Regions from separate parts of the Homo sapiens genome. Here region 2 is linked to region 1. The links are contacts of gene promoters, found by promoter capture Hi-C in blood cells and fetal thymus (Javierre and others, 2016). All regions are on one chromosome and are shown on one strand. Each heading gives the region's core, a stretch centred on a gene start or on the middle of the fragment in contact. The rest is flanking DNA. Distances are from core to core; before and after follow the strand shown. Region 1 holds the start of MXD3 (MAX dimerization protein 3). Region 2 overlaps UIMC1 (ubiquitin interaction motif containing 1).

What was found. Contacts are between HindIII fragments. The CHiCAGO score rates a contact against its expected background, and 5 or more counts as called.
Region 2: a fragment that was not itself captured here is called in contact with the fragment with the promoter of MXD3 in region 1 in 1 of 17 cell types (monocytes); the score reaches 5.3 in monocytes.

What each region holds. Positions count from the first base shown.
Region 1 is chr5:177,309,705-177,315,102 of GRCh38, forward strand. It overlaps MXD3 (MAX dimerization protein 3), which reads right to left and starts at 2,194. Exons shown (of 6, transcript NM_031300.4): 1 at 2,057-2,194; 2 at 1,675-1,780; 3 at 964-993; 4 at 722-836. The coding sequence starts at 2,126. RefSeq lists enhancers at 1-48, 295-1,161, 1,419-1,618, 3,269-3,328 and silencers at 2,169-2,348, 2,479-3,048. The HindIII fragment of the contact is 10,591 bases long and covers 1-5,398 here.
Region 2 is chr5:176,996,821-177,002,218 of GRCh38, forward strand. The region is part of intron 1 of UIMC1 (ubiquitin interaction motif containing 1); the gene reads right to left. Among named protein-coding and RNA genes, the nearest start is that of UIMC1, 7.3 kb to the right of the region's middle. The HindIII fragment of the contact is 4,011 bases long and covers 166-4,176 here.

The sequences.
Region 1 (5,398 bases), core at 944-3,443:
CCTGAATCTGCCGCCCATCAGCTGTGCAACTTGTTGGCCCTCAGCCTAGCTGTGCCTTCATGTATTCCTCTAGAGGGCAGGAAAAGTCCTGTGGTTTCCAAGGCCACTTCTGACATGGCCAGGGCCACCTGGGCCTTTATTCAGCACATCCACTCCTGTCCACCAGGGGGCACTGAGCTCAGCCCCAGCAGCAGCAGGAGCCCTGGGAGGACCAGTGACTGGCGTCTTCTCAGTCCTTTCCCCTCCTGTCCCTGGAGCTGCCTCCCAGGTGGCACCAGGATAGACTGCCCATAACAGGAGGCCTTGAAGGTGAGAGGGGGAGAGCAAGGACCAACCCTCTACAGTCCCAAGGACCCCCACATACATCCCATCACAGAATTCAACAGCCATCCCCTCCCCTCAAACAGGAGGGAAGGTTAGTCCAGACAGGCTAAGTAACCTGCCCAAGGTCTCACAGCTGTGATCTAAGTGATAACAGCTGTAACAGCAACAGTGAACATTTATAGAGTGAACTCATTTAAGCCTCAACAACCCTCTGAGTTATTGTCTGCTTTTCTTCCCATTTAATGGATCTGGAAAGTAAAAGCTCAGAGAGCTGTCCTAAGTCACACAGTTCTTGAGCTCTGACCTCAGGTCTCGTTCCCCAGTCCCACCAGCCCCTCCATAGCACAGCCCTCCATACACCAGGGCAAGCCAGTCCGGGCGCAGTGGGGGGCCTCACCTGGATGTGCATCCTGGCACGGCGCAGCAGGCTCAGCGTGGTGTACCGGGCACAGTCGGCCCCCAGGGGCATCTGCTGCTTCAGCCGCTCCAGGCACCGCTTCAACTGGGCCCTCCTGTGGGGAAGAGGTCTGGAGGGCAGTGCCAGCCCCACCTTGCCGGCCACAGGAATGGCAGGGGAGGGAAGGCCAGAGGGCAGTGGCCCCTGGGGGCTGGCGCTGTCAGGGCAGGACTGGGACTCACCTGCGCTTCTCCAGTTCATTGTGCACTGACCTGCCAATGCCAGAGAGGATGAGGTGAAGGGGAATCAGCTACTGCCCATGCCCCAATCCCAGGGCCCCCAGTGGCTCAAGAGCCACTACAGATGTCTGCCCCAAACAAGTCCCCTGTGGAGAGCTCATGCTGGCCTCAGACACCAGAGTCCCCTGGCAGGGCGAGGGGAGTCAAAGACACACGGAGCCAAATGCTTAACAGAAGCCTGCCCAGGTGGGTATGAGGGCCCTAACAAGGGCGCCTGCCAGCTGGCCAGAAAGGACCTCCCAGAGGTGACAGCTAACTGCGGAAACAGATGTTTCCCAAGCCGGTACTGGAGGGAGGGGCATTCAAATAGGAGGGAACAGCATATGCAAAGGGCTGGGGAGAGGAGAGAAGAGGAGGAAGCCAGCGGGGGAGGTGAGTGGCCTGATGTGTGGGGTGCGGGAGTGCGAGTGGAAGCGGGACCCCAACTGCTGTTGGCAGTTCCCGGCACATCTAGAGGTGCTCAAGAAATAGTCCTTGAATGAATAGAAAGGTGTGAGTGTGTTTGGAGAGTGGGGAGATGGCAGGAGGGGTCTGAACGCTTCCTGGAGCGGGACACCTGGCCCAAAAGATGCAAGCAACAAGTGGGCAGAGGAGGGCCCGACCAGGGGCGGCGCCCACCCCCACCCCCACTCCCGCCGCCCCCGGCCTCCTCACCGCCCGCTGTCCTGCGCGCCAGGAGCCTGGGGGGGTCGCTTCTTCCTCCTGTGGATGGGGCCTGGACTGCGATGCGGGCACAGGGACGCATAACCATGCTCGGCCTCTGCCAGAGAGAGTCCCCGCCCGCGTCAGGCTGGGGCTGGACCTGGTCCCAGCGGCAGCCCCAGGCACAGCACGGTCAAGGAAAGGCTTTTGGCGCCAGGACCATTTCCCCCACCCGTCCCTGCTCTACCGCCCCGGGACTCCTCTCGAGTTGAGGGCGAGGCGCCCCGGGATTACTGTCCTAGGGCGGTGCATCCTTCAAGCTGGGAGCCAGGTCCAGTCCAGGCCCGTGTCAGCGAGGTCGCCGCCCGGAATTCAGCCAAGGGTCCTTCCTCACCTCTCTCACGGCGCTCCAGGAACTCGGCCGCCTGCAGCAGGACCTGGATGTTGCTGGCCAAGGGTTCCATGTCGGCGACAGCTGGCGGCGGGCCGGCCTAGGGTGCCGGCCGGAGCAAGCGGCTGCAGCACTTTTGTTACAAAGTAACTGACACGGTGCAACAAACACAGGGGCCCGCCCCGCCCCCGGGACGCCCCGCCCGCGGGAACGCCCAGCCCTTGGCTCCGCCCCTCTGGAACCCGCCACGGAGCCGCAGCCCACCCTCCGGCAGCCGCCCCGCCCCGAGTGGTCTCAGACTTTCCAGGGGCAGGTAAGGGCGCTGGCTCCAGGCCTGGCCCTGGAGCGAACCCTCAGGCTAACCGGTGCTGCTTCTTGCCCGCCTCACTCATCCACCCACGCCGGCTCATTGGCGTCTTTGATCTCAGCTTCCAGCCCCGTGCTAGTGACTAGCCCCCAACATAGCACGGCGCTCTGGGGGCCTGGTGGTCCCCTGAAAGCGCCGGGCCCAGCCGCTGCACGTGGGTGCCGCGGGGGCGGGGCCTCCGGCCGCCGCTCGCCCATTCGCACATGGCTTCTCAAGGATCGCTGTTGTCATCCTCGGGGCGGGGTCGGGGAGCCTCTGATGCCCTATTGGCTGGCGCTCTGCCCCGCCCTCTCCCGCCGCTGATCCACACGTTCGGGCGGGAAAAGAAGCAGGTTTCAAATTTGAAAACCCAAGCGATGGGGCGGGGTTGAGAGGGGAGCTGGGCCTCAATGCGCAGGCGCCGGCGGAGGGGCGGCGGACCCGGCTCCTGCCCTCCGGGGTCTGTCCCCAAGCCTGCCTGCCATCTGCCCCCGAAGGCCCCCGTGGGCCCCAGCTTCCTACTGTGTCGAATGGGAATAATATCTCGGCCCCCCTCCTCTTCTGTGAGGAAGCTGTTGTTGCTACGAAAACGTCAGTGGGGTAACAGCTTCCTCAGGCAGGCCATACCCTGGAGGCACGCGAAATGGCCTTTTCCGGGGCCTTGGGCTCTGGTATCCACGCAGTTGGGGTCCTCTCCTGTCACTGATGTCTCAGCTGTGTATGACTCAGGAGGTGACCTCCGTCTCTAAGCCTCAGGAGCCCTGCGACAGCGTTGAAGGATCAGAGCCAATGCCTCTGCGGTGCCCATGGCATGAAGGAGCCGCCCATCTCAAAGGCCAGTGCAACCAGACCGCGGCGTTTGCCTCCCAGGCAGCCCCTGCTTGCCTTACTCAGAGTCCATAAACCCTTCTTGCACCTGACTCTCCTAGCCGGCCGAAGGAGTGGCTGTGATGACTTCTAGCCTCAGCACCAGCAGGTGGGGCCACATCTGGGGACAGGAAGATGAACGCAGCTGTAGCAGGGTGGAGCATTGCTGCCAGCCACGGGCTGAGTCTGTGACTCCAGTAATCCCAAAATAGAGAGGGGAGGGAAGGTGGGAGGGATAGATGCTCTGTAAAGAGACAGTCCTGGTAAACACAAGCACATGTCAGTCAGGCCTCAGTTCCTTGGGAAAAATCTTTTTTTTTTTTTTGAGTCTTGCTCTGTTGCCCAGGCTGAAGCGCAATGGCTCAGTCTCGACTCACTGCAACCTCCGCCTCCCGGGTTCAAGCAATTCTCCTGCCTCAGCCTCCCAAGTAGCTGAGACTACAAGCGCCCACCACCACACCCAGCTAATTTTTGTATTTTTAGTAGAGACGGGGTTTCACCGTGTTGGCCAGGCTGGTCTCGAACTCCTGACCTCAGGTGATCCACCCACCTCAGCCTCCCAAAGTGCTGGGATTACAGGTGTGAGCCACCGTTCCTGGCCGGGAAACATCTTGAAGTTTCGGCCAGGCGCCGAAAAAAAATGAAGTTTCTCTAAGAGTTGCTCACAGCGGAATAACTGCCCTGTCTAGGCAGACGATCCATCTACCCAGCCGCCTGTCCTTAACTCACAAAGTATTTGCTGAGCTCTCACTGGACACCAGGCGCTGTGCTGGGGGCTGGAGGACATACGATAGGCAAAATCATACAGGGTCCCTGCCCTTGCAGAGCTCATAGGCTTGAGAGGGAAAGACACCAATACAGTCGCAGGAAGGCGGAGGTCCAGCTGGACAGGTCCTCACAGGGAGAGACCATGCCCCACAACACATTCTAAGGAACATTTGACCTAATTGGTGAGGCCAGAGAAGGCTTTACTGGGGAAATGGATGAAGAGGTGTTATCTAAGTATAGGAGAGATGAAAGAATTCTAGACAAAGGAACAGCACATGCAAAGGCCCTGGGGCTGAAAGGAGCATGGCAGGGGCGGTGTGGCTTACAGAGAGCAAATAGCCTGGTGCAGGCTGACACTGGAGAGGCTGCAGGGCCCAGAACATGCTGATGGGTTCCCCCAAACTCCCCCCTGCAATCAGCCATCTCTGAAGGAAGGAGCCGCAAGGGTTGTGAATGAATTTCCAATTTTATTTCACTAAAGTCAGCACCATGCAGTGCAGACACGAACCTACTCAGATGTCTGGGCCCTAGGTGGCCTGGCCTCCAGTCTGGGTGGGATAGGGGTGGGGAGGTTCTGAAGGAGGAGAATTTTCAGCAAAGGGAAAGAAGGAAGCATATGTGAGCTGAAGACATGGCCAGGAGGTGGTGGGAGTCGGGGTGGGGCTGCAGAGGGGCTGGAGGGCTCATGTCAAGGAGTTTGGACTTCATCCTAGGAGCTGCAGAGCGGTTTTGAGCCAGGGACAGCATGTGGGCTGGGGTCAAGGCCACCGGCCAGGCCAGACAGGAACAATACCTCCCCAGGAACAGGATGGGACGGGGCATGGGGGGATCCAGCCTGGACCAGCAGGGATCCTGCCCCAAGCCCTTGGATGTCCCCTGGGCCCCTGTGAGAAAATGCTAGAGCTAGTGGCCTCTAGGCACAGGACTGGACAGAGGAGCTGCAGTGCCCCCCCAGCAGTGACCAGCCCAGATCCTCTGCCCTGGAGTCCGCAGGGTCCTGCGCTTCGCCCTGTGACCTCCTGCCTCCACCAGCCCACTGTAACTGGGGTTCTGCTGCCTGTACTTGCAGTGCAGACTCTACCCGGGTCTATGGTCCTCTGGGCTCCAAGGACAGAGTCTGCATCTGTGCCCTGAGTGGAAGGGGAGAAGGGAGACCCCCCCGCCCCAGGCCTTTGTCCCAGTTAGGACCCCTTGAAGAGGGGAGCCAATCCTGGGCTCACCGTCCTCCTCCACTCCATGGACACTCCATGGTGCAGGAGGAGATGGCCCTGCGTTCCCCAGATCCCTTTCCCCTTCTCCCCTGCAAGGAAGAGTCATCGGGGGAGTCGGGAGCCTGGCTCCGACCCTGGAACCCTGCCCAGCCT
Region 2 (5,398 bases), core at 921-3,420, 310 kb before region 1:
GCCATTGGGTCTTACCTGAGACAAGCAACAAATGAGAAGATGAGTCAGAGATTTATCAGGAAGCTCCATGAAATAAGACAGCCATAGGAGGATTCATAAACTCTCAAAATATCCCAGAATGGTCAGAGGCTGTTGAAATGCACAGCAGAGACCACAATAGGCCCAAGCTTCCTACATAACCCTGCTCAGCGGGATCTATGTGCACGCGTGCGCACACACACACACACACAAATTTGAGAGCCCTGAGAAAAGAGTTGGGGCAGACTTGAAAGCTAGTACACACCTTCCAGCCCTGTACAGAACCAAGATGTTATCTTTAACTCTCTTTCCCTCATTTTTCATATCCAATTCATCCTTATGTGCAACTGATTTCACCTCCTATACCTCTCTTTAAGCTCTCCATTTCTTTTCATTTTCACCACTATCACCATCCAAGCTACCAACAACTCTCGTGTAGACAATTTTAACAGACTCATAACTGGGTTCCTTACTTTTACCACCGTTCCCCTCCAATCTCTACACACCAAAGCTGTTTTCTTTTCAACTGCAAATCTTAAAGTACTCCACTACTTAAAACATTTCAGGCCGGGCACGGTGGCTCACACCTGTAATCCCGCACTCTGGGAGGCCGAGGCAGGCGGATCACAAGGTCAGGAGATCGAGACCATCCTGGCTCACACAGTGAAACCCCGTTTCTACTAAAATTACAAAAAAATTAGCCGGGCGTGGTGGCGGGCCCCTGTAGTCCCAGCTACTGAGGAGGCTGAGGCAGGAGAATGCCGTGAACCCAGGAGACGGAGCTTGCAGTGAGCAGAGATTGCACCACTGCACTCCAGTCTGGGCAACAGAGCGAGACTCTGTCTCAAAAAAAAAAAAAAAAAAAAACCCATTTCAATGGTTTCCCACTATTTTTATAGTTAGGACATTTTTGCTCTTAACATAGTCTACAAAGTATGTCCCGTATTATCTGCCCTCCTGCCAGATTGCTCTTTCTAAGCTCTCTCACAGTTCTTAAGCCCCAGCCATACTCCTTTAATGTCATGAGGCCTCTATACTTGCTTCTTATGAATGGAAGATTCCCCAACATTCCCCTTCACCTAGTTAATTCCTTCTCATCCTTCAGAAGAATAACTTTCTCAGAGAAATCTTTCTTGGCTCCCCAGATTGGTCAAATACCTCTACTATACATTTTCAAAGTACCATGCACCTGTCAAAATCAGTTAACACAGTTTTAATTACACACTCATTTGCGTGATTTTTCATCGAGAAAGAAATGTCTGTCTTTCTCAATGGACTATAGCCTTAAGGAAGGCAAGGAAGAAACAGTCCCAGCACCTACCAAATGCTGTGGCAAATGATAGGGGATCAATAAATACTTATTTGCAGTGGTTCACCCCTGTAATCCCAGCACTTTCGGCAGATCATCTGAGGTCAGGAGTTCGAGACCACCCTGGCCAACGTGGTGAAACCCCATCTCTACTAAAAATACAAAAATTAGCTGGGCATGGTGGCACATGTCTGTAATCTCAGGTACTCGAGTGGCTCAGGCACAAGAATCACTTGAACCCAGGAGGCAAAGGTTGCACTAAGCTGAGATTGCGCCACCACTGCACTCCAGCCTGGACGACAGAGCAAGACTCTGTCTCAAAAAAAAAAAAAAAAAAAGTCTGGGTACAGTGGCTCACGCCTGTAATCCTACCACTTTGGGAGGCCAAGGCGGGCGGATCACCTAAGGTCAGGAGTTCGAGACCAGCCTGACAGACATGGAGAAACCCTGTCTCTACTAAAAATACAAAATTAGCCAGGCGTGGTGGTGCATGCCTGTAATCCCAGCTACTCAGGAGGCTGAGGCAGGAGAATCGCTTGAACCCGGGCGGTGGAGGTTGCGGTGAGCCAAGATCATGCCATTGCACTCTGGCCTGGGCAATAAGAGCAAAACTCCGTCTCAAAAAAAACAAAAACAAAACAAAACAAAAAATTATACAAACCTTGGAATAATTTAGTGTAGTGAATGTATACGTATTTTTCTCCTTTATTCAAAATTCCTACAAGTCTGCGCTCATTTTATAATTTAAAAATAATGCTCAGGCTGGGTGCAGTGTCTCACGCCTGTAATTCCAGCACTCTGGGTGGCCAAGGCAGGAGGACTGTTTGAGCTAGGGGGTTTGAGACCAGCCTGGGCAACACAGCAAGACCCCGTCCCTACAAAAAAAAATTAAAAATCAGTCAGGCATGGTGTTGCATACCTGTAGTCCCAGCTACTCAGGAGACTGAGGTGGGAGATAACTTGTGCCCGTGAGATCAAGGCTGCAGTCACTCCAGACTGAGTGACAGAGCAAGATCCTGTCTCAGAAAAAATAATAATAATAATCCTCAAAAAAATCTTGCAGTATTTTTAAGTTTTCTAACATACATTTTAGTTTTTAGCATATAAGTCTTATACATTTTATTAAATTTAATTTTTGTGGGTACATAGGTGCATATATTTATGGGATACATGAGATGCTTTGTTACAGGTACACAATATGTAATAGTCAGATCATACAAAATAAGGTATCCATCCCCTCAAGCATTTATCCTTGTGTTACAAACAATACAATTATACTATTTTAAAATGTACAATTACATTATTATTGACTATAAGTCATCCTATTGTGCTATCAAATACTGGGTCTTATTGATTCTATTTTTTTTTTTGGTACCCACTAACCATCCCCACCTCCCCACCATCCCCCACTACCCTTCCCAACCTCTAGTAACCATCCTTCTACTATCTCCATTAGCTCAACTGTTTTGATTTTTAGATCCCACAAATAAGTGAGAACATGCAATGTTTGTCTTTCTGTGCCTGGCTTATTTCACTTAACATAATGACCTCCAGTTTCACCCATGTTGTTACAAATGACAGGATCTCATTCATTTTTATGGCTGAATAGTACTCCATTATGTATAAGTACCATATTTTCTTTATCCATTCATCTGTTGATGGACACAGATTGATTCCATATCTTGGCTATTGTAAATAGTGCTACAACAAACCTGGGAGTGCAGATATCTCTTCAATATACTGATTTCCTTTCTTTTGGATACATACCCAGCAGTGGGACTGCTGGATCATACGATAGCTCTACTTTTAGTTGTTTTGTTTTCTTTTTTGGGATGGAGTCTCGCTCTGTCACCCAGGCGGGAGTGCAGTGGTGCCATCTCAGCTCACTGCAAGCTCCACCTCCCGGGTTCACACCATTCTCTTGCCTCAGCCTCCCGAGTAGCTGGGATACAGGCGCCCGCCACCACACCTGGCTAATTTTTTTACATTTTTAGGAGAGACGGGGTTTCACCGTGTTAGCCAGGATGGTCTCAATCTGACCTCATGATCCGCCGCCTCGGCCTCCCAAAGTGCTGGGATTACCGGCATAAGCCACCGCGCCCGGCATACTTTTAGTTTTTTGAGGAAACGCCAAACTGTTCTCCATAGTGCTGGTACTAGTTTACATTCCCACCAACAGTGTACAAGGGTTCCCTTTACCCCACATCCTTGCCAGCATTTCCTATTACGTGTTTTTGGATATAAGCCATTTTAACTGGGGTGAGATATTTCACTGTAGTTGTGACTTGCATTTCTCTGATGACCAATAATGTTGAACGCCTTTTCATATGCCTGTTTTCCACTTGCATGTCTTTTTTTTTTTTTTTTTTTGAGATGGAGTTTCATTCTTATTGCCCAGGCTGGAGTGCAATGGCACAATCTCGGCTCACTGCAAACTCTGCCTCCCAGGTTCAAGTGATTCTCCTGCCTCAGCCTCCTGAGTAGCTGGGATTACAGGCATGCACCACCACGCCCGGCTAATTTTGCATTTTCAGTAGAGATGGGGTTTCTCTATGTTGGTCAGGCTGGTCTCGAACTCCCGACCTCAGGTGATCCACCTGCCTCGGACTCCCAAAGTGCTGGGATTACAAGCCTGAGCTACCGTGCCCAGCCTGCATGTCTTCTTTGGAGTAATGTCTATTCAAATCTTTTGCCCATTTTTTAAATTGGATTATTAGATTTTTTTTCCTATAGAGTTGAGTTCCTTATACATTCCGGTTATTAATCCTTTGTCAGATGGGTAGTTTGCAAATATTTTCTCCTATCCTGTGGGTTGTCTCTTCACTTTATTGTTTCCTTTGCTGTGCAGAAGCTTTTTAACTTCATGTGATCCCATTTGTCCATTTTTGCTTTGGTTGCCTGTGGTTATGGGATATTACTCAAGAAGTTTTTGCCCAGACCAATGTCCTAGAGAGTTTCCCCAAAGTTTTCTTGTAGTAATTTCATAGTTTGAGGTCTTAGATTTAATACATTTAATACATTTTTATTTGATTTTTGTATATGGCAAGAGATGGAGGCCTAGTTTCATTCTTCTGCATATAGATATCCAGTTTTCTAAGCACTATCTATTGAAGAGACTGTCTTTTCCCCAGTGTATGTTCTTGGCAACTTTGTCGAAAATGAGTTCACTGCAGGTGTGTGGATAGACTTATACGTAAGTTGTTTTATGGGGTTTTGTTTTTTGAATAACTAGTGAAAGAAATCAAAGATCTAAATAAGTAGAGACATACCATGCCCACAGGTTGGAAGCTTCAACATAGTAAACATATCAATTCTCCCCAAACTGATCCTAGGTTGTTGTTTTTTTTCTTCAACCTTTGGGAGCACAGAACGTTATCTTAGGTTTAATGCAATTCCTATAAGAATCCCACTAAGACTTTTAGTAGACATAAACAAGCTTATTCTAAATGTATATAGAAAGGCATGGGCCCCAGAACAGTTTAAACAATCTTGACAAAGAATAAACTGAGGGCCAGGTGCAGTGGCTCACGCCTGTAATCCCAGCATTTTGGGAGGCTGAGGGGGGGCGGATCACAAGGTCAGGAGATCGAGACCATCCTGGCTAACACAGTGAAAACCCGGCTCTACTAAAAAAAAAAAAAAAATACAAAACATTAGTGGGGCGAGGTAGCAGGCGCCTGCAGTCCCAGCTACTTGGGAGGCTGAGGCAGGAGAATGGTGTGAACCCGGGAGGCGGAGCTTGCAGTGAGCTGAGATCACACCACTGCACTCCAGCCTGGGCGACAGAGCGAGACTCTGTTTCCCAAAAAAAAAAAAAAAAAAAAAATCAGCCAGACATGGTGGCACATACCTGTAATCCCAGCTACTTGGGAGGCTGAGGCACGAGAATCGCTTGAACCCAGAAGGGAGAGGTTGCAGTGAGCCGAGAGCGCACCACTGCATTCCAGCCTGAGCAACAGTAAGACTGTCTCAAAAAAAAAAAAACAAAAAAAAAAAAATTAGCTGGGCATAGTGGCGTGCACCTGTAGTCCCAGCTACTCAGAAGGCTGAGGAGAAGGGATCTCGAGCCCA